Regions from separate parts of the Homo sapiens genome. Here region 1 is linked to region 2. Evidence: promoter capture Hi-C in 16 types of primary human blood cells and fetal thymus (Javierre and others, 2016). All regions are on one chromosome and are shown on one strand. Each heading gives the region's core, a stretch centred on a gene start or on the middle of the fragment in contact. The rest is flanking DNA. Distances are from core to core; before and after follow the strand shown.

The links. The method cuts DNA at HindIII sites, captures the fragments that hold promoters and counts their contacts. A CHiCAGO score of 5 or more calls a contact.
Region 1: a contact is called between a fragment that was not itself captured here and the fragment with the promoter of QPCTL in region 2, in 1 of 17 cell types (total CD8 T cells). The highest score is 6.0, in total CD8 T cells.

Annotation. Positions count from the first base shown.
Region 1 is chr19:45,036,768-45,043,021 of GRCh38, reverse strand. It overlaps CLASRP (CLK4 associating serine/arginine rich protein), which reads right to left and starts at 3,977. Exons shown (of 21, transcript NM_007056.3): 1 at 3,914-3,977; 2 at 2,711-2,838. The coding sequence starts at 2,809. RELB (RELB proto-oncogene, NF-kB subunit) reads right to left here. Exons shown (of 12, transcript NM_006509.4): 12 at 4,830-5,617. The coding sequence ends at 5,232. RefSeq lists an enhancer at 3,434-4,303. The HindIII fragment of the contact is 286 bases long and covers 3,031-3,316 here.
Region 2 is chr19:45,691,416-45,697,538 of GRCh38, reverse strand. It overlaps QPCTL (glutaminyl-peptide cyclotransferase like), which reads right to left and starts at 4,873. Exons shown (of 7, transcript NM_017659.4): 1 at 4,629-4,873; 2 at 3,983-4,126; 3 at 1,821-2,102. The coding sequence starts at 4,835. SNRPD2 (small nuclear ribonucleoprotein D2 polypeptide) reads left to right here and starts at 5,586. Exons shown (of 3, transcript NM_001384647.1): 1 at 5,586-5,652. The coding sequence starts at 5,651. RefSeq lists enhancers at 4,166-4,716, 5,242-5,371, 5,382-5,511, 5,330-6,050. The HindIII fragment of the contact is 1,670 bases long and covers 3,796-5,465 here.

The DNA.
Region 1 (6,254 bases), core at 1,924-4,423, 650 kb after region 2:
AATTTTGTGCATGAAACAAAGTTTGTGTAAAGTACTTATATGTGAAACTTTCCACTTATAGTGGGGCATCATGTCAGTATGCAGAAAGTTTCAGATTTTGGAGCTAGCCGGGCGTGGTGGCTCACGCCTGTAATCCCAGCACTTTGGGAGGCCGAGGCAAGCAAATCACTTGAGGTCGGGAGTTCAAGACTAGCCTGACCAACATGGTGAAACCCTGTCTCTACCAAAAGTGCAAAAATTAGCCAGGCATAGTGGCACATGCCTGTAATTCCAGCTACTCAGGAGGTTGAGTGAGGCAGGAGAATAGCTTGAACCTGGGGGGTGGACGTTACAGTGAGCTGACATCATGCCACTGCACTCCAGCCTGGGCGACTAAGCAAGACTCTGCCTCAAAAAAAAAAAAAGATTTTGGAGCATTTCGGATTTTGAATTAGGGATGTTCAACCTGTGTATGCGTATGTGTGTGCGTGTGTGTATACATACATACACACACATATATATATATATATAAATTTTTTTTTTGAGATGGAGTCTCACTCTGTTGCCCAGGCTGGAGAGCAATGCAACCTATGCCTCCCGGGTTCAAGCAATTCTCCTGCCTCAGCCTCCCGAGTAGCTGGGATTACCATTTACTCCTGTATTACTGCCCCAGCCTCTTCCCTGGTCTGCTGGCCTCCAGTCCTGGCTCCTCCAGTCTGTCCTCCCTAGAAGAGTCCAGGAGGCCTTTCTAAAGCACAAAACTGACCCTGTCCCTTCATTGCTCAGAGCACCTCTATGGCTCCTAAGTGCCCTTGAGAGAAAGCCCAGGCTCCTCACCACCTCCAGCTAATTTCTGTATTTTTAGTAGAGACGAGGTTTCATCATGTTAGCCAGGCTGGTCTCAAACTCTTGACCTGAGGTGATCCACCTGCCTTGGCCCCCAAAATGCTGGGATTACAGGCGTGAGCCACCACACCAGGCCCATGTATGTGTATCTTAAGTGTGTTAAATTCCACAAAGGGGAAGGAAAGGGAGCTATGATTATGGCATTTTTAGAGGACACCTGACTGAGCTTGGGAAACAAGACTTCTCTGAGGACTGAGATCTGACAGATAAGCAGTAGTTAACCAGGTATGGGAAGAGCTCATACAAAGGTCCTGTGGCTGGGGAGCGCTTGGGTCAGTGGAGGAATAGCAAGGAGGCCAAAATGACTTGTGCAAAGGAACAAGGCAGAGTGTGGGGTGGTGTGAGTCTGGAGGAAGGGCAAAGGCCAGGCCATGCAGGACCCTAAAGGCCACAGTGAGGAGCCTGGGCTTTCTCTCAAGGGCACTTAGGAGGCATAGAGGTGCTCTGAGCAACGAAGGGACAGGGTCAGTTTTGTGCTTTAGAAAGGCCTCTTGGACTCTTCTAGGAAGGACAGACTGGAGGAGCCAGGACTGGAGGCCAGCAGACCAGGGAGGAGGCTGGGGCAGTAATACAGGAATAACTGGGAAAGGTCTATATAAATGTCATCTGACAGGAACACTGAACCTAGAAAACAGGTGCCATTTCAAGCTGGGATCCCAAGGATACACAGGAGTTAAATAGGTGAGGGGGGGTAATATAGGCCAAAGCCCTGTGGTGGCAGAAATAGAAGGCCAGTGGAGCTGTCCGAGTATGAAGCTGAGTGGTCAGACCACAAGGGTCTTTTAGGCCAGGGATAGTTTGGTCTTCCCCGCAAAAACAACTGAAGCATCAGACAGGAGAGGGAAGTGGTCAGGTTTCACTTAATATTCACTCCTTTTTTTTTGAGACAGTCTTTTTTTTTTTTTTTTTGAGACAGAGTCTCGCTGTCGCCCAGGCTGGAGTGCAATGGTGCTATCTCAGCTCACTGCAGGCTCCGCTCTGCCCCCCTCCCCGGTTCACACCATTCTCCTGCCTCAGCCTCCCGAGTAGCTGGGACTACAGGCACCCGCCACCTCACCTGGCTAATTTTTTGTATTTTAATAGAGATGGGGTTTCACCGTGTTAGCCAGGACGGTCTCGATCTCTTGACCTTGTGATCTGTCCACCTCGGCCTCCCAAAGTGCTGGGATTACAGGCGTTGAGTCTTGCTCTGTCACCCAGGCTGGAGTTCAGTGGCACAATCTCCATGCACTACAGCCTCCTCCTCCCGGGCTCAAGCAATTCTCGTGCGTCAGCCTCCCAAGTAGCTGGGACTACATGCACACACCACTAAGCCTGGCTAATTTTTGTATCTTTAGTAGAGATGGGGTTTCACCCTTTTGGCCAGGCTGGTCTCGAACTCGTGACCTCAGGTGATCCACTTGGGATTACAGGCGTGAGCCACTGTGCCAGGCCAACTTAATACTCACTCCTATTGTGTGCCAAGCCAAATCTCAAGAGTGGCTGAGCTCTTCTGGGAATGGGGAACACAGCAATAAGCGAAACAGACATTCTGGAGGTGGCCAGTCTAACGTCAGGACTGCTCTGAGGGTTACAGAGACTTCCCTTTTTCTTGCTAACACCGGATCGGCACTGGGAGGCCACACCAAACGACACAGTATGCTACAACAAACAGAAGCCCTTGGGATCCCACCAATGATTATCCTCAAGAAAAGATTAATGAATATACTCCTGAGGAAATGAGCCTCTTGTCTTGACATACTTCCAAGCCCAGATTTTACCAGGATGACCAGCTGTGCCCCCCAACCCAGGGTCCCTCACCCCAGACAAAAGGCCAGTTACTCACGATCTTTTCATAATACTCCCGTCTCCGCTCCGCCCTCTTCTTGTAGTCGACCATCATGCCTCGAAGCTTCCGCTCATGCTTCCGAGCCTCGTGCCACATTGTGGTGAGGCCAAGCCTGGGGCCTCAACCTGAGGGATGAAGGGACCAGGAAAGTCAGATGGTCTGTGAAACCCGTATGGGCAGAATCAAAGTCATCTAACAAGTTGGTGGCAGAGTCGATCCCAAACAACACATCTCTTAGCTTCAGGGAGCAGAAGTGAAGCTGCAGAACAGTATGCCAGATGTTCAAGTCCATCCCTAACAACTTCGATCTAGAAGCTTGGGCATTCTGAAAAACCCTCAGGTGATTCTGAGGTGAGCATCACTGGGAAAGGGGTGTCCTAGATTCCACGCGCTGGAGTCGGGAATGAAAGGTTTTGAAACATCAGCAGTGTTTGAAGTAGGGTCAGAAGGCAAACCCTGAGCACTTAAGGCTGGAGCTCAAGAGAAAGAGAAGAACTGAAAAGGCTCCCACTAGGGGCCATGCGTGGGGTTGGGTATGAGTCTGGGTGGTAGAGGGATAAGGAGAATAAGGATGAAGGCAGGTGGAGGAAATCGGAGAAAGCTTTTAAGGGAACAGTGCAGTTGTATGAAGGTGGAGGTCGAGGACAGGTGAAGGGCGTGGCGGAAGATGAAGATGCTAGAGGGAGTGGGAACACGGGGAGGGAGTGTTGCAAGGAGACCAGAGTGAAGCTGAGGTCTAAAGATGGGATCTAGATGGCGGGGTGGGGAGAGCATCCAAAGAAAAAGAGCGTAGAGCCTGAGAGAGGCGGAGCTGGCTGACAGGAGGGCGTGGGCTGAGCTTGGGGGCAGGGCTTGCGGGAAAGGGCGGAGACCGAAGGTTTGGACGGGGCTTGTGGATCGCGTCGCGGCCTGAGGATTTGGGCTGGGTTTTTTTTTTGTTGTTTTTTTTTTTGACAAGGGGGCGGGGCCTGTGATAAGCTGCTGGGCCGAAGGCCGAGTTCGACGCGGCAACTTCTGGCCCACAGCCGGGGCACGGGCTCGGCCTGAGGCCCGTCAGGCCTAATGGGGTGAGGGACGAGCGATCCTCGGGGCCGGGACGCAGCAGAAGCCCACAGCAGCATGGGGAGAGCCTGAGGAAAGGGAGAAGCTGGGCTGAGGCCTGCCCGAAAACCGGGAGGTCGAGCCGCAGCCTGCACTCACCGGCTGGTCGCCGCCTCCCACCGCTGCGCTCGCGCGCGGCCCGCACCGGAAGCGGAAATGAAAGGCCGCGCTAGGGGGAGGGGGCGGAGCATGGTGGAGGGCCGCGCAGCGCACTTCCGCCGACGAGAGAGGCGGGTCCTAGAGTCGAGAGGGGCGGGATCCCGAGGAAGAAGTGGGAGAGCGGAGAAGGGAAGAGCTTGGATGCTTTATCTTTTTATCTTTTTTATTTTATTTATTTATTTAATTTTATTTTTTTGAGACGGAGTCTCTCTTTGTCTCCCAGGCTAGAAGGCAGTGGCGCGATCTAGGCTCACTGCAACCTTTGCCTCCTGGGTTTCAGCTATTCTCCCACCTCAGCCTCCCGAGTAGCTGGGACTACAAGCGCGCGCCACCAAGCCCGGCTAATTTTTGTATTTTTAGTAGAGATGGGGTTTCACCATTTTGGTTAGGCTGGTCTCAAACTCCTGACCTCAGGTGATCCACCTGCCTCGGCCTCCCAAAGTGCTGGGATTACAGCCATGAGCCACCATGCCCGGTCTCATTTTTTATTTTCATTTTCATTTTTTATTTTTTTGAGACACAGCCTCGCGCTGTCGCCCAAGCTGGAGTGCAGTGGTGCGGTCTTGGCTCACTGCAACGTCCACCTCCTGGGCTCAAGCGATCCTCCCACCTCAGCCTCTAGAGTAGCTGGGATTACAGGCGCGCAGCACCACGCCCGGCTAATTTTTGTATTTTTTGTAGAGACTAGGTTTCGTCATGTTGCCCAGGCTGGTCTCAAACTCGTGAGCTCAAGCGATCCTCCTGCTTTGGCCTCCCAAAGTGCTGGGATGACAGGCCTGAGCCCCCAGCCTGGAGGCTTTCTTTGCTACTAAGGGACTAGGGCGTTTCCCAAGCCCAGAACAGACGAAACCCCGGAGGCTCAAAAACTCATCTTTATTGGGAAGACTCTGAACAACCAACCTACCCCCCACCTTCAAGTCTGGGGAGGGAGGGCCAGGAATCTGCCCCCTCCTCCCATATGTACAATCTTTTCCGAATCCTACTGGAGAAGGTGCCCCCACATGTGGGGACAGAGGCAGCTGTAACAAGCTAGTGCACGGGAGCCATGTCCCTTTTCCTCTCCGGACTCAGTTTCCTCATCTGTAAAATGGGCTCAAGGGGAAACCCGTGCAACGGAGCTTCTCGCCAAGGCTGAATATGTCCACTTCAGAAGCATGAGGAAGGGCCAAGGGGATGGGGGTGCTAGACATCCTGGTTGGGATTGCACGGCTCCTCCACCTCCCTCCCCACCCAGTGCCCCTCCTCTGGCATCGCGGGGCTACGTGGCTTCAGGCCCCGGGGATAGGAGGCCGCCCCCAAAGGCCGCCTCGCGGTAATGATTGGGGAACATGTTGCTGCCCACAAGGCTGGCGGTGCCTCCATCCCCGGGGCCCGGGGCCTGGTACGAGTCCAGTGTCAGTGGTTCAGGGCCGGGGGTCTCCCCAACCACGGCCCCGGCACCTCCGCTGCACACAACAGCGCTAGCGTGTGGCGGTGCCGGGGGCAGCAGGTCCAGCATGGTGAAGAGTGTGGGGGCCGTAGGGTCGTAGGCAAAGCCATCGTCCAGGAGGTCAGGCCCGCCAGGGGGCTCCAGGCCGGGCAGGGACACGGTGCCAGAGAAGAAGTCAGGGTCTGGCAGCAGGGCTGACGGCGGGAGGAACGGGCCTACGGGGATGAAGACAAGAGAAGTGTAGTGTGATTTAGGGCTAACTTCTGATCAGGCCCTAAATCAAATGCCCTACTCCCTGCAAAATGTGATATCAAGGTGGCCTTTTTTTTTTTTTTTCTGAGATGGAGTCTCATTCTGTCACCCTGGCTGGAGTGCAATGACGTGCTCTTGGCTCACTGCAACCTCTGCCTCCCCAGTTCAAGTTGATTCCCCTGCCTCAGTCTCCTGAGTAGCTGGAACTACAGGCCAGGCATGTGCCATGCCCAGCTAATTCTTATCTTTTTAGTAGAGACGGGGTTTCACCATGTTTGCCAGGCTGGTCTCGAACTCCTGACCTCAGGTGATCCACCTGCTTCGGCCTCCCAAAGTGCTGGGATTACAGGTGTGAGCCACCAAGCCTGGCCTTAGGTGCCCTCTTAATCCCAAGGAGAATCCGTGTGGGACTATCACCATTCTCAGATAATAAGTAAATTGAAGGCCAAGCGTGGTGGTTCACACCTGTAATCCCAGCACAACGTGACGAGACCCTGTCTCTACAAAAAAATTATTTAAAAGTTAGCTGGGTGTGGTGGTGCCCGCCTGTAGTCCCAGCTACCTGGCAGTCTGAGGCAGGAGGATTGCTTGAGCCCAGTT
Region 2 (6,123 bases), core at 3,624-6,123:
GCTTTGTTATAGGGACACTGGGGAGGCACAGAGAGGGGTTAAGCAGGGCAGGAGCATGATTAAATCTGTGTTTTTCTTTTCTTTTCTTTTTTTTCTTTCTTTTTTTTTTTTTTGAGACGGAGTCTCGCTGTATCGCCCAGGCTGGCGTACAGTGGCGCGATCTCGGCTCACTGCAAACTCTGCCTCCCGAGTTCACGCCATTCTCCTGCCTCAGCCTCCCAAGTAGCTGGGACTACAGGCGCCCGCCACCACGCCCAGCTAACTTTTTGTATTTTTAGTAGAGACGGGGTTTCACTGTGTTAGCCAGGATGGTCTCAATCTCCTGACCTCACGATCCACCTGCCTTGGCCTCCCAAAGTGCTGGGATTACAGGTGTGAGCCACCGCACCTGGCCTGTGTTTTTCTTTTCTGTTTGTTTTGAGACAGAATCTCGCTCTGTCATCCAGGCTGGAGTGCAGTGGTGCGATCTCGGCTCACTGCAACCTCCGCCTCTCAGTTTCAAGTGATCCTCCTGTCTCAACCTCCCAAGTAGTAGGATTACAGGTATGTACCACCATACCCAGCTAATTTTTGTATTTTTAGTAGAGATGAGGTTTCCCTGTTGGACAAGCTGGGCTCGAACTTCTGACCTCAAATGATCTGCCTGCCTCGGCCTCCCAAAGTGCTGGGATTACAGGTGCGAGTTACCACGCCCGGCCGGGAAGGCCTCTTTGAAGGGGTGACATTGGAGTGGACACCTGAGTGAAGAGTGGGAGCCAGCCAGGAAGATATCTATGAAAAGCATATTCTTTTTTTTTTTTTTAAGAGACAAGGTCTCTGTCACCCAGGCTAGAATACAGTGGCACGATCATGGCTCACTGCAGTCTCAAACTCCTAGACTCAAGCCATCCTCCCCTCTCAGCCTCCCAAGTAGCATGCCACTACTCCCAGATAATTTTTTTTTTTTTTTGAGATGGAGTCTCGCTCTGTTGCCCAGGCTGGAGTGCAGTGGTGCAACTTTGGCTCACTGCAACCTCCGCCTCCCGGGTTCAAGCAATTCTCTGCTTCAGCCTCCCGAGTAGCTGGGGTTACAGGTGTGCACCACCAAGCCTGGCTAATTTTTGTGTTTTTGGTAGAGATGGGGTTTCATCATGTTGGCCAGGCTGGTCTTGAACTCCTGACCTTGTGATCCACCCACCTCAACCTCCCAAAGTGCTGGGATTCCAAGTGTGAGCCACGGAGCCTGGCCAGAAAAGCACATTCTATCCAAAGCAAACAGCAAGTGCAGATGCCCTGAGGTGGGAGCAAGCTCTGCGGGTTTGAGGAACCCAGAGGAGGTGGGGGTGGCTACAGCAGAGTGAGCAAGAGGTGAGGGGTGGGAGATGAGGCTGGAGAGGTAACAGGGCACAGCTCGTGGGCCAATATAAGGACTCTGGATTATGGCTGGAATGAGGCGGGAGCCCTGGGAGGGTTTGGGGGAGAGGAAAGAGAATCTGACATCTAGAAGGTAAAAAGATCCCTGTGATGACCAGGCGCGGTGGCTCACGCCTGTAATCCCAGCACTTTGAGAGGCCGAGGTGGGCAGATCACCTGAGGTTGGGAGGAGAATTGCTTGAACCCAGTAGGCAGAGGTTGCGGGGAGCCAAGATCTCGCCATGTGCACTCCATCCTGGGGAACAAGAGCGAAACTCCGTCTCAAAAAAAAAAAAAAGATCCCTGTGGCTCTGTGCGTGGAGTAGAGTGGGAAGACGAGAGGGATGACAAATGTCCAGGCAAGGGAGGGTGGGGGCTTGGGAAAAGGTGGAGGTAGCCCACTACCCTCCCCGACTCCTGCTCCTCACCTGTTTTTTGGCCCTGCTCAGCTCCAGGTCAAGTGCTTGGGCCAGCTCCAGCAGCAGGGCACAGGGCACAGCCGAATCCGTGGCCCCTACAAAGGGGGTCGATCCGGGTGGGAAGAGCTTCGAGTCATAATGGCAGGCAAGGGTGAGGTGACGGGCAGCCCTTGGGTCCAGTGTGGCCACCACATTGCCAAAGTCCACTGGCCCCAGGGGTGTTGAGGCTGTGAAGGGATCCAGCTCCACGTGCCAACCTGCTGTCAGGGACCGCAGCGTGGCCTCCAGGAACTAGCGGCAAGAGAGAGGTGGGAGGGTGGACGGGGACTGGGGAGGAGGTGGGGAGAAGGGCCACGTGACCTGAGCCATGCAGAGCAGATGGGTTGACACTAAAGCCCCACTCTGATTGAATGGATTTCTTTCTTTCTTTCTTTTTTTTTTTGAGATGGAGTCTTGCTCTGTCACCCAGGCTGGAGTGCAGTGGCTTGATCTTGGCTCACTGCAACCTCTGCCTCCTGGCTTCAAGTGATTCTCCTGACTCAGCCTCCTGAGTAGCTGGGGTTACAGGCGCCCCCTACAACGCCTGGCTATTTTTTGTATTTTTAGTAGAGATGGGGTTTCACAATGTTGGCCAGCCTGGTATTCGAACTCCTGACCTCAAGTGATCTGCCTGCTTCAGCATCCCAAAGTGTTGGGATTACAGATGTGAGCCACTGTGCCCAGCCCCCTACTCTGATTAAAATCATTCCCTTGACAGTGCTGGTGAGTACCTACTGGGTGCCAGATGTTGGGGAGACCCCACCTCTTGAAGCCAGCAAGACTCATCACAGCTTACCCTTAAATAGCTCTCACTGTGTGCTAAGCCCTCTTCTAGGAACCATTTAGGGGAGGGACTGCCAATACATGACCCCATTTTACAGATGAGGAAATGGGCTCAGAGAGGTTAAGAAACTAGTCCAGGCCGGGCGCGGTGGCTCACGCCTGTAATCCCAGCACTTTGGGAGGCTGAGGTGGGCGGATCATAAGGTCAGGAGTTTGAGACCAGCCTGGCCAATATGGTGAAACCCCGTCTCACTAAAAATACAAAAAATTAGCCAGGCATGGTGGTGCACACCTGTAATCCCAGCTACTCAGGAGGCTGAAGCATGAGATTTGCTTGAACCTGGGAGGTGGAGGTTGCAGTGAGCCGAGATCGCGCCACTGCACTCCAACCCAGGCGACAGTGTGAGACTCCATCTCAAAATAAAATAAAATAAAATAAAATAAAAAAGAAACCAGTCCAAGGTCACAATCTAAGTGGATGAGGTAGCATTGGGACTCAGGCAGTATTTAAGTGACTTTTTTTTTTTGAGATGGAGTCTCGCTCTGTCACCCATGCTGGGGTGCAGTGGCGCAATCTCAGCTCACTGCAGTCTCCGCCTCCTGGGTTCAAGTGATTCTCGTGCCTCAGCCTCCCAAGTAGCTGGGACTACGGGTACCCACCACCACGCCTGGCTAATTTTGTATTTTTAGTAGAGATGAGGTTTCACCATGTTGGCCAGGCTGGTCTCAAACTCCTGATCTCGAGGGATCTGCCTGTCTCGGCCTCCCAAAGTGCTGGGATTAGAGGTGTGAACCACTGCGCCTGGCCTTTAAATGACTCTTCATGCTTTCTGGAAGACAACAGATACATTACAGCACCAGCTCGGAGCCAACCTGTTTGGGTTCAACTCTAGGTCTATGATTTTCTAAACATTGGGTCTCACTAGGTTGACTAGGCTAGTCTCAAACTTCTCAGGTGATTCTTCCACCTTGGCTTCCCAAAGTGCTGGGATTACAGGCATGAGCCACTGCACCCGGCTAAGGTCTACTACTTATTATCTGTAGGATTTGTGCAATGTGTATAACCTCTCTGAGCCTCAGTTTCCCCATCTGCATAATGAAGATCATATTGGTACCCACCTTATAGGGCTGTCTGTTGCCTATGCCTAGCACACAGTAAGCTTTTGGTGGGGGCATTAAGGGGGGCAGTACAGCCTGGTGGTTTGTTACCAGCATGGAGTCTAGAGTCCGATTAACTCCAGTCAGAGCCCCAGTTCCTCCTCTTAGCTTCTTTGGGATCTTGAACAGGATTCTTATTTCCCATTCCCTGGAGGGCTAGGGGGTCAGGGACTGGAGGTGGGTCCCTTTACCTTTCTGACTTGGAGATTTCCCGGGCTGCCCGGGGTTCGCACAACCAGCAGGGGGCGCAGATAAGTGCTCCAGAGACGCTGTGGATCCAGTTGTCCCACCACCCTCCGCAGCCGGGCTTCGGGGAGGCTTCCGATCAATGGGACCTTGGGAAGGAGGTGGGATAGGGAAGGGAAGAATGAGAGCAACCCCCCCATTTCAACCCTACCCCGGGCGCCGTCACCCGCGAGGAGCCCCGGGTTCTCTTCCTAATCTGCCGCCTCCAGCATCGGAGACTTCTAGGATAAATCCAAGGCTCAGGAAAAGTCCTTCCAAGACCATCCGGTCCAGCCTACCTCAAACTTGATGGGGAAATCGAGGCCCAGTGAGAGAGAGGGGAGATGGAGGAAGGGACTCTTCCAAATAGTTGACTAAAGGCGTAGAACCCTGAACCCCCCCGTCTTACTATTTCAGACCTTTCCTCTTAAAAGGAAGCTACTGTTGCAGAACCAGCCCGAAGCCTTATTCCTTTGGTAAGGGTCATGCGCTCAGATGACGAAGACGGTGGCATCTGCGGTTAGGGCCGTACGCTAAAGCCACGTCAACCCTGGGTAACAGCGGGGAGGGAATGAGGGTCCCCGCGGTGCCCGGGTCCCCGCCCAGCCTCACCCGCAGCTCCCGGCCCAGCGGCAGCTCCTCAGTCCTGCGGTGCCAGCCGCTCCAAATGGTGTAGAACGCCGAGCCCACGGCCAGCGCCAGCAACAGAGGCAAGAGCCGAACCCGCGGTAGCAGGCGGCGCTTCGGCGGCAAGAGTGGCTCCATGAGGCCACGTTCCCCCAGCCGCAGGCGGGGTCGCCCGCGGCCCCCGGAACGCATGGCCGCTTTGCCCTGAAACCTGTACCAGACCACGGATTGAGTTTAGGCCCAGCCAAGTTCCTCCCCATGGAATCGGTGGGCCAATAAGCAACAGCTGCGGCTGCACCAGCCCACCCCACAGCGAGCAGCGAAACCAATAAGAACTACGGTCCTGAGGACACGCCTCCCAGCCTCCCTTAGGTATTGGGGTTGGTTCCCCTGAGAATGGCACGACCCAAATGGGAGCGCAAGAGAAGTAGGCTCCGCCTTAGCGGAGGAGGGAAAGCCAATGAACAGCGTTTGATCATGGAAAATATTCGATCTCCCGGGCGCAGGTCCATGCCCCTTCCGGATGTAGGCAGGGGATTGGTGGCGCAGGGTCGGAAAGATCAGTAGATACGTCAGTAACGCGTCCCAGAGGGAAGAGGGGCGGTGCCTGTCTCCGAAGCGAGGAGCGGATTGGCTTCACGGAGGCCGCGCCCCCGAAGTCACGGCCGGCGGGCATTTGGAAATAGCTTGTCATTTCCCTCCTTCAACCTGTACCATTCTTCAAGAAACGGTTTGAATCAGACTGCCTTTCCTTTTGTCTTCATTGTCATAAACATCTGCCCCCGTGTGGTTCTGACTGGCCGCGAACCCCTACCCGAAGCTTTTATTCCATCATTGTGCACCGTTGGTGGGGAATGCTGTGGCAACAGGCCACGCCTCCACTTACTGGTTGGCTTTGCGCAGGCGCCAACGGAAGTGGGTCGCAGGAAGAGGAAGTCCCGCCTCTCTCTCCTCAGGCAGCAGCAACGCGGAGGAAACGGGAGTGAACGGAGAGCGTAGTGACCATCATGTGAGGCCGGGCTAGGCTTAGGCGGCGGGAATGAGGTTGAGGGTGGATATTTGACCGATTGAGTGTGGGAAGGGTTGAGCAGAGCGGGGGGGGCAGGGGCAGATGTTTTAGGGATGCAGCGTCCTGCTTTTCTCCTGATGAGTTTGAGAACGGGCGTGGGGCCTTTGACGCATCGTGACTTCGGGAGAGGGGACAGCTTTATCAGATAACGCCCTGGGCTGGGCGCGGGGGCTCATTCCTGTGATCCCAGCACTTTAGTAGGCCAAGGCGGAGCATCGCTGGAACACAGGAGTTCGAGACTAGCCTAGGCAACATAGCGAGACCCCCGTCTCTACAAAAAAAAAAAAAAATTTAATTATGAAAAACATGTTTTAAACGATAACGGGAGTGGTCCTAGATAATTAGTCCTATTGAAATGAATGTTAAGGGGCAGCGATTTTACGAATACTGGGGGAGGCCGAGCGCGGTGGC